Linked DNA regions of Homo sapiens: region 2 is linked to region 1. The links are contacts of gene promoters, found by promoter capture Hi-C in blood cells and fetal thymus (Javierre and others, 2016). All regions are on one chromosome and are shown on one strand. Each heading gives the region's core, a stretch centred on a gene start or on the middle of the fragment in contact. The rest is flanking DNA. Distances are from core to core; before and after follow the strand shown.

Evidence for each region. Contacts are between HindIII fragments. The CHiCAGO score rates a contact against its expected background, and 5 or more counts as called.
Region 2: a fragment that was not itself captured here is called in contact with the fragment with the promoter of CYP4F2 in region 1 in 1 of 17 cell types (M2 macrophages); the score reaches 5.2 in M2 macrophages.

What each region holds. Positions count from the first base shown.
Region 1 is chr19:15,895,897-15,899,903 of GRCh38, forward strand. CYP4F2 (cytochrome P450 family 4 subfamily F member 2) reads right to left here and starts at 2,178. Exons shown (of 13, transcript NM_001082.5): 1 at 2,130-2,178; 2 at 1,518-1,716. The coding sequence starts at 1,715. The HindIII fragment of the contact is 3,476 bases long and covers 967-4,007 here.
Region 2 is chr19:14,848,132-14,852,138 of GRCh38, forward strand. OR7A10 (olfactory receptor family 7 subfamily A member 10) reads right to left here and starts at 791. Exons shown (of 2, transcript NM_001005190.2): 1 at 369-791. It also overlaps the pseudogene OR7A8P. The HindIII fragment of the contact is 5,321 bases long and covers 1-4,007 here.

The sequences.
Region 1 (4,007 bases), core at 928-3,427:
GCCATCTATCCGTCTAATCTATCCATCATATATATCTACTCCATCTGTCTACATAATCTATCCATCCTATCTACTCTATCTACCCATCCATCCATCATCCATCCATCCATCCATCCTATCTGTGCATCCGTGTGTCCATGCATCCATATGTCCTATTATTTGTCTATCTATCTATCCATCCATCCATCCATCCATCCATCCATCCATCCATGCTATCTGTGCATCCATGTGTCCATGCATCCATCTATTCTATTATCTATCTACCTACGTGCCTGTCCATCCATCCATCCATCCATCTATCCATCCTATCTGTGCATCTATCTATCTATCCTATTAGCTATCTATCTATCTATCTATCTATCTATCTATCTATCTATCTACATTCCTCCTGCTCTATCTATCTATCTATCCACATTCCTCCTGCTCTATCTCTCTTGGGTCCATCTCCAAGTCCCAAGGGTGCATCCCAGGGCAGAGGGAGAAGACGCACTGTCCACTCACAGAGGCCCAGTTATCTTGAGAGGAAGGATTTTCTTTTTCTGGGAGTCATTTCAGCCCAGAGGCAGCTATATGGGGAGGTCCTCACAGGGGAGATTTGTGGGGAGCAGTATCGCCTCAGGACATGTCCCTAAGGCTGGTCCCCACATGCCTTCATGTCCTGGCTGATCCACAGAGGCTCCAGTTCCTCCCATGGAGAAGGTTCTGCACATGGGAGACCTTCCCTTTTCAGCAGCCACTAGTGGAGCAGAGGTGACTCTAACTGTCCATCAGGACAATGGCTCCCACCTGGGAGCAGCTTCTGCAGCAGGCTCTGTGCTAGTGTGTCCTGTGCACCCTTCCACTTTATCTGTGGACACATCCATCAATCCTGCCATTTGCAAATGAGCAGACTAAGACCACATTCCCCAAAGAGGAGAGCGGTCTAAGTCAGAGGGCAAGGTCACGGGGAGGAGAAAGGCCAAGGAAAGCTTCTGAAAGGTGAAGTGAGTGGCCAACTTTTATCTGGGTTTGGCAACAGGTCTCATTGATAAGAGGGAGATAAGAAGAAGAATATAAGAGAAAGGTGCCTTCGGGTGTAGTGGAAGTGGGAGACGGCCCATGCCTCTCCTCTGGCCCAGCTGTACCCTCATAACAGGAAATAGTCCAGGCAAGGAGAGGACCCTGGACAGTGGGCATAAGAAGCCTCGAGTCCAGCAATGGAGAATGTGGGAATGCCAGGGACTCGCCTCTCTGTGCAGCCAACCCTCTGCCCAGGAGCCCCGCAGAGGTGCATTAATGTGGGAAGACAGGCAGGAAAAGGATTCAATGCAGGCCTGGAGTGGGAGGACAAGGAAGTGAGAAGGGCTTGCGTAGGCACCTCACAGAAATGAATAAGCAGAGGAATGAGTAAGATGCCTCCTCTGCTTCTCTGCCACCCCAGATCCCAGCCCACCCCTTCACCCCCACTCCCTAAGCCTCGTACCCCTCAGGAAGTCCATCCATCCTGAGACCTAGACCCATCCTGCTGCCACACTCACCATGCCCTGGTGTCCCCAAAACCAGTTCCGTCTTGGGGGTTGTGGGAAACACCGAAGGCGGCGGCAGTTGTCATAGAAGGCGTAGGTCCAGGCCAGGACATGGGCCAGGAGCCAGGAGGCCCCGACCAGCAGGAGGAGCAGCCAAGGGGATGCTGCCACTGGCCAGAGGCCCAGCCAGGACAGGCTCAGCTGGGACATCCTGCAGGGCAGACGGGATGGACGGTGAGATCCTGAGGCCCAGAGAACGGCCCAGGGACCTCCAGGGACAGTGGAGAGGCAGGGACGGGCAGTGCCGGAGGTAGAGCAGGGAGGGCTCAGGGATGGGTAAAAAGGGGCTGAGAGGTAAAGTCCAGAAAGGCCCAACCAAAACCAGCAGCCAAGTGGCCTCCAGTTCCCTAGTAAGCACTTAGAATGGGAAAGAGAGAGAGAGACTGATTAAAGTCCAGAAAGGCCCAGCCTGAATCACTGTGAGGTTGCCAGGGGCTTGGTTTCAGTTACTCGGAAACCACCCATCCTCCAGGCCAGCACCCAGGAGCTGCGTGGGCCTTGGGCAGTGCCCCTCTCCATCCCAGGCCAGGACCCCCCCCAGGCCTGCCACCCCCAGCCTGGCACCTTCTGTCAGGAGCAGTCTGTCCCAGACAACCTCCTCTCTCTGTCTGCTGGGAGGCCTTTGACCCTGGCCCTTGATATAGCAAAGGCTGTGGGAGGGCTGGCTGGGTTGGGCTGGGCCAACCAATCCCTGCAGCCTGGATGTGTCTCCTGAGCCTGGGCAGCCAATCAACACCTGGCGTCAGGCCAGCTGGGTGCAGAGGAATCAGCTCAGGGTCCAGATGGATGGGTAGATGCACAGATAGATAGAGTAGATAGGATGGATACATTAGGTAGATAGATAAAGTAGATATAGATAATGGATATATTAGACAGATGGATAGATAGCTATTAATAGATGATAGATAGATACATAGATAATAGGATAAATAGATGGAATGGATAAACGTACAGCTAAGATGGATTGATGGATGGATGGGTAGGCAAATATATATATAGATGAGAAATTAGATAGATAGGATGAATAGATTAGATAGACACACCCAGAAATAATGTTCCATCTCTGTCCCAGATATGTGGGATCCTCATTTGTGACATGGGAACTAGGGATCTTGGATCACTCCAATCACTCCAGATGCTACAAGGCCAGTGACTTACTCAGTATGATGCTGAGGAACATGACCATCAGAAACAGGATCAGAGTCACTCTCAAGCAAAAAAAAAAAAAAAAAAAAAAAAAAAAAAAAAAAAAACTCCAAGGATTAAATGATTTTTCCCATTGTCCTGGGGAGAAATTAATCCAAGGGAGGTCACAGGAGGGCAAATAATTCCCCATCACCACCACCACCACCATGAGCATACCATCACCCATGGAGTTTTCTGATTTACTCTTTGGCCCATTAAGCGTGAAATTTCTTATGCTAGGTTTCTTTCTGATAAGGGAGAAGAGATTAGTATCTCTACATTTCCTCTCCTCCTGCTACCTAGTCTCTGTATTCTAGGTTAAATTATAATTTATGTTGAGGATTTACAATGGCTGATACACCTAGCTGAGCCTTCTGCACAGAGATACATTGGGAGTGGAGGTTAATTGGGTCAAAGGAGAAATGCCATAAGCCCACACTCCAGCCTATCAGGGTGGATTAAAGGTCTGATTTGCCCAACTCTTGTCACACCTGCTCCCACTGAGAGGTGACAGCATGCTGGCAGTCCTCACAGCCCTCACTCGCTCTCGGCGCCTCCTCTGCCTGGGCTCCCACTTTGGCGGCACTTGAGGAGCCCTTCAGCCCACCGCTGCACTGTGGGAGCCCCTTTCTTTTCTCTTCTTTTCTTTTTTTTTGGATTTTTTTATTATTATTATTATACTTTAAGTTTTAGGGTACATGCGCACAATGTGCAGGTTAGTTACATATGTATACATGTGCCATGCTGGTGCGCTGCACCCACTAACTCGTCATCTAGCATTAGGTATATCTCCCAATGCTATCCCTCCCCCCTCCCCCCACCCCACAACAGTCCCCAGAGTGTGATGTTCCCCTTCCTGTGTCCATATGTTCTCATTGTGTAGGGACATGGATGAAATTGGAAATCATCATTCTCAGTAAACTATCGCAAGAACAAAAAACCAAACACCGCATATTCTCACTTATAGGTGTAGGAGCCCCTTTCTAGGCTGGCCAAGGCCAGAGCCGGCTCCCTCAGCTTGCAGGGAGGTATGGAGGGAGAGGCGCGAGTACGAACCGGGGCTGCGCGCGGCACTTGCGGGCCAGCTAGAGTTCCAGGTGGGCGTAGGCTTGGCAGGCCCCGCACTCGGAGCAGCCGGCCGGCCCTGCCAGCCCCGGGCAATGAGGGGCTTAGCACCCGGGCCAGCGGCTGCTCGGGAAGGTGTACTCGGTCCCCCAGCAGTGCCAGCCCACCGGCGCTGCGCTCGATTTCTCGCCG
Region 2 (4,007 bases), core at 439-2,938, 1.0 Mb before region 1:
AAATGCCCTCACTTCCTTTCGTATCCCCCATAGCTAATACCCTACTTCTCTTTCCCACTTAATTGCAGTGATGCTTGGGCAGATGTTCTGCTTTCACTGGAACTACTTTAGACCCCACATTTTCTCTTCTAATTGGGCTTTTATTACCCTTACTTGATTGTCGGCTATCATTCTCCATTGCTGAGTTCAAGATGCACTTCTCTTCTTAGCTTCATAAATGAAGATATGAATCAATTCATTCACCAAGCAAATACCCACAGCAGCGTCTCCACTCTGTTGCAGCTAGGATTGGCTCTTTCGAGATCTCGGGTCTATGTTCACAACTTGCAATCTCCCTGATCCTTTCCTACGGTACCTATTGGACTCACCCTGTTGGGTTTTCTGAAATGAAGGTCTCAATCTAGAAGTGCAAATTCCTCCCTGGATGGTTGATGGTGGAGACTGAGGCTGTGTCCCAAGACAAGACAGTAGGAGAAAGGAAAGAATCAGTACCCCTGAGCCAGCAGATATAGACTCCGAAAGAAACAAGGATGTCCCATCCAGCCCAAGGTTGCATATGCTGAGGGACACCTGCAGCGGAGAAATTTACAGCTTCATATGCCTGCTCATTGGAGACATTTCCTCCTGTTATTCAACCCCTGATCACATTCAGTCCCTGTGGGACATTGCTCTTCATGGAAAGAAATTTTTTTCTTGCATACTCAGTTCCCAAGACATCAGATTAAACATCAGGCGAATCGAGTCGTTATTATTCCTTCTCCATGGATTTGTCTGCCTTCCAAAGGTCTAACCTCCCATCACTTCCCTCCAACCCTGAGGGAAAGTTTCCTCCGAAGTTTAAACTGAGGAATCTTTCTTGACTAAGCCCCTTGAGTCTCCAAAGCATTGACTTGTGGTAAGAACACAGGTTAAGAGCCGTCATTTAATCCTTCATTTATAAAACATTTGATAATTGTAAGAGATACATTTACATCTTTTCATGCAAGTTACCCTTAGATTAGCACCTTATAAGAGTGATCTCATTAATTTTTTAAAAAAAGTATTTATTTATTTAAATGGACAGATATAATTGTATATATTTATGGTGTCCAACATGATGCTTTGAAGTATATATACATTGTGGAATGGTTAAATCTAGCTAATTAATATATGCATTATCTCATGTAGCTATCATATTCGTAGTGAGATTCCTTTAAATCCACCTTTGGCATTTTTCTTTTCTTCCTCTTCTTTTCTTCTTCTTCTTCTTCTTCTTCTTCTTCTTCTTCTTCTTCTTCTTCTTCTTCTTCTTCTTCTTCTTCTTCTTCTTCTTCTTCTTCTTTCTTCTTCTCTTTTTTTTTTTTTGAGACAGAGTCTTGCTCTGTTGCCAGGCTGGGGTACAGTGGCACGATCTTGGCTCACTGCAACCTCCACCTCCAGGGTTCAAGCGATTCTCCTTGCTTCAGTCTCCCGAGTAGCTGGGATTACAGGCACCCACCACCACACCCGGCTAATTTTTGTATTTTTAGTGAAGATGGGGTTTCACCATGTTGGCCAGGATGGTCTCGATCTCTTGACCTCGTGATCCGGCTGGCATTTTTCAAGAATACAATATGTCATCATTAAATATAGTCACCTTGCTGTACAATAGATCTCTTGAATGTATTCCTCCTAACTACAATTGTGTATCCTTGGACAAACATCTCCCCACTCCTCACGCTGCAACTGCCCCAGCCTCTGGTAACCACCATTCTACTCAATAATTCTGTGAGATCGACTTGTTTCAATTTCATATGAGTGAGATCAGATGGTATTTGTCTTTCTGTGACTGTCTTATTTCACTTAACATAATGTTCTCCAGACTCAACCATGTTGTCTCAAATGACAGAATTTCCTTCTTGTTTATGGCTGAATAGTATTCTATTGTGTGTGTGTGTATAATACATAACGAAATTATATAATATTTTAAAATCCATTCATTCATTGATGGACACGTTGATTGATTTCACATCTTGGATTCAGGATATTCTGGACATAATTCTGCATATGAACACTTTGTTGGATCTGTAGTTTGCTGATAACATTGACCACATATCTAAACTCAACATTTTTATTCCACCCCTCACTCCTGACCCATTTTATGGTTTGGAGGTCACAATTTACAGCTTTTTATATTGTGTATCACTTAGCAAATTAAGAGTTACAATTTTCATTTGATGTTCTGTTAATTGCAATTGATTGCAATCCATAACTTGCTATACTATTCCGATAAATTTTATAATATTAGTAACCTGTCATATGTATACAAGATCTACATGGGGATCAAAATCAGTTATATTACATGTGTACTTTCTAATAAGCAGTTATTGTACATTCTTACTTTTTTGATGGGGCTACACACACACAGACACAGAAACATACAAACATACACAGACACACACACACACACAGACACATAAAGTCTTGACAAATTGGAAGACCTCCATAGGAGAATGGCTCACATACAGAAAAATCTAAAAAGTATCATAGGGTGACTGGAAGAAGAAAAGTTGGTTGTTTTTTCTGTACATATGAAGAAGTTGGTTGTTTTTCCTGCACATGTGGAGACAGTCCTGTCTGCCACTGAAAAGAATGCTGGCGTTTCTTCTTGTACATCATTTCATGCGGCCCCTACTGGGTACCCTGGATTCTCTCCTGACTCCAATCTCTTCTCAATCATACACTCAGGGTATCTGCAACAAAACTTCCACCTCAATTTCCCCCTCTTTTTTCAAATTTCTATATCTCTTGTATCTACAATTCTATTCTCTGTCTCCATGAGGTCAACTTCTTTAGCTCCTTCATATGAATAAGAACAAGCATTATTTTCTTTCTGTGCCTGGCTTATTTCACTTAACATAGCAGCTTCCAGTCCCATCCATGTTGCTGCAAATGTCATAATTTTATTCTTTTTTATGGCTGAATAGTATTCAATTGTGTATATGTACTGCATTTTCTTTATCTATTTGTGCACTGATGGACACTTTGGTTGATTCCATATCTGAACTATTGTGAATAGTGTTGCAATAAACATGCAAATGCACGTATCTTTTTGATACACTGATTTCTTTTCCTATGGTTATAGATCCAGTAGTGGGATTGCTGCATCAGATGGTAGTTCTATTTTAGTTTTTTGAGAAATCTCCATATTATTTTCCATAAAGGATCTACTAATTTACATTCTAACCAACTGTGTATAAGAGTTCCCTTTTCTCCTTATCCTTCCCAGCAACTGTTTTTTTTTCTTTTTAATAATATCCATTCTAATTTGGGTAAGACGAAATCTCACTGTACTTTTTTTTTTTTATCGTTGTTGTTGTTGGTTTTTTTCTTGAGATGGAGTCTTGCTCTGTCTCCCAAGCTGGAGTGCCGTGATGTGATCTCAGCTCACTGCAACTCCGCCTCCTGGATTCAAGCGATTCTCCTGTCTCAGCCTCCTGAGTAGCTGGGATTACAGGTACCCACCACCATGTCCGGCTAATTTTTGTATTTTAATAGAGACGGGGTTTTGCAATGTTGGTCAGGCTGGTCTCGAACTCCTGACCTGAAGTGATCCACCTGCCTCAGCCTCCCAGTGTGCTGGGATTACAGGGGTGAACCCCTGTGCCTGGCCTCCACCTTATTTCCAACCCTACTTTGGGGATAACTTTGGGAAAGTGGGAAAATGACAAAGGAAAGAAAACTGTTGGATACTTGAGAGCAGAAAACTTTTTAAAGGAAAATCATAAACTTTATAAAGCAGTTGGAATCAAAGAAATGGAAACTCCAGGTAGATAACAGAAGGAGTAACTTCTACTTCCACAATCTCATTAATGAATCATGATTTCTATCTCTGGGAATTAGAGCTCTGAAATCACAGGCATTAATTGAAGAAGAGTCCTTTTATTGCTTCCTTCTGAAGAAGCGTTTCAGAGCATCCTTTAGGTCTTTATTCCTCAGACTGTAGATAAAGGGGTTCAGCATGGGGGTGACCACAGTGTACATCACTG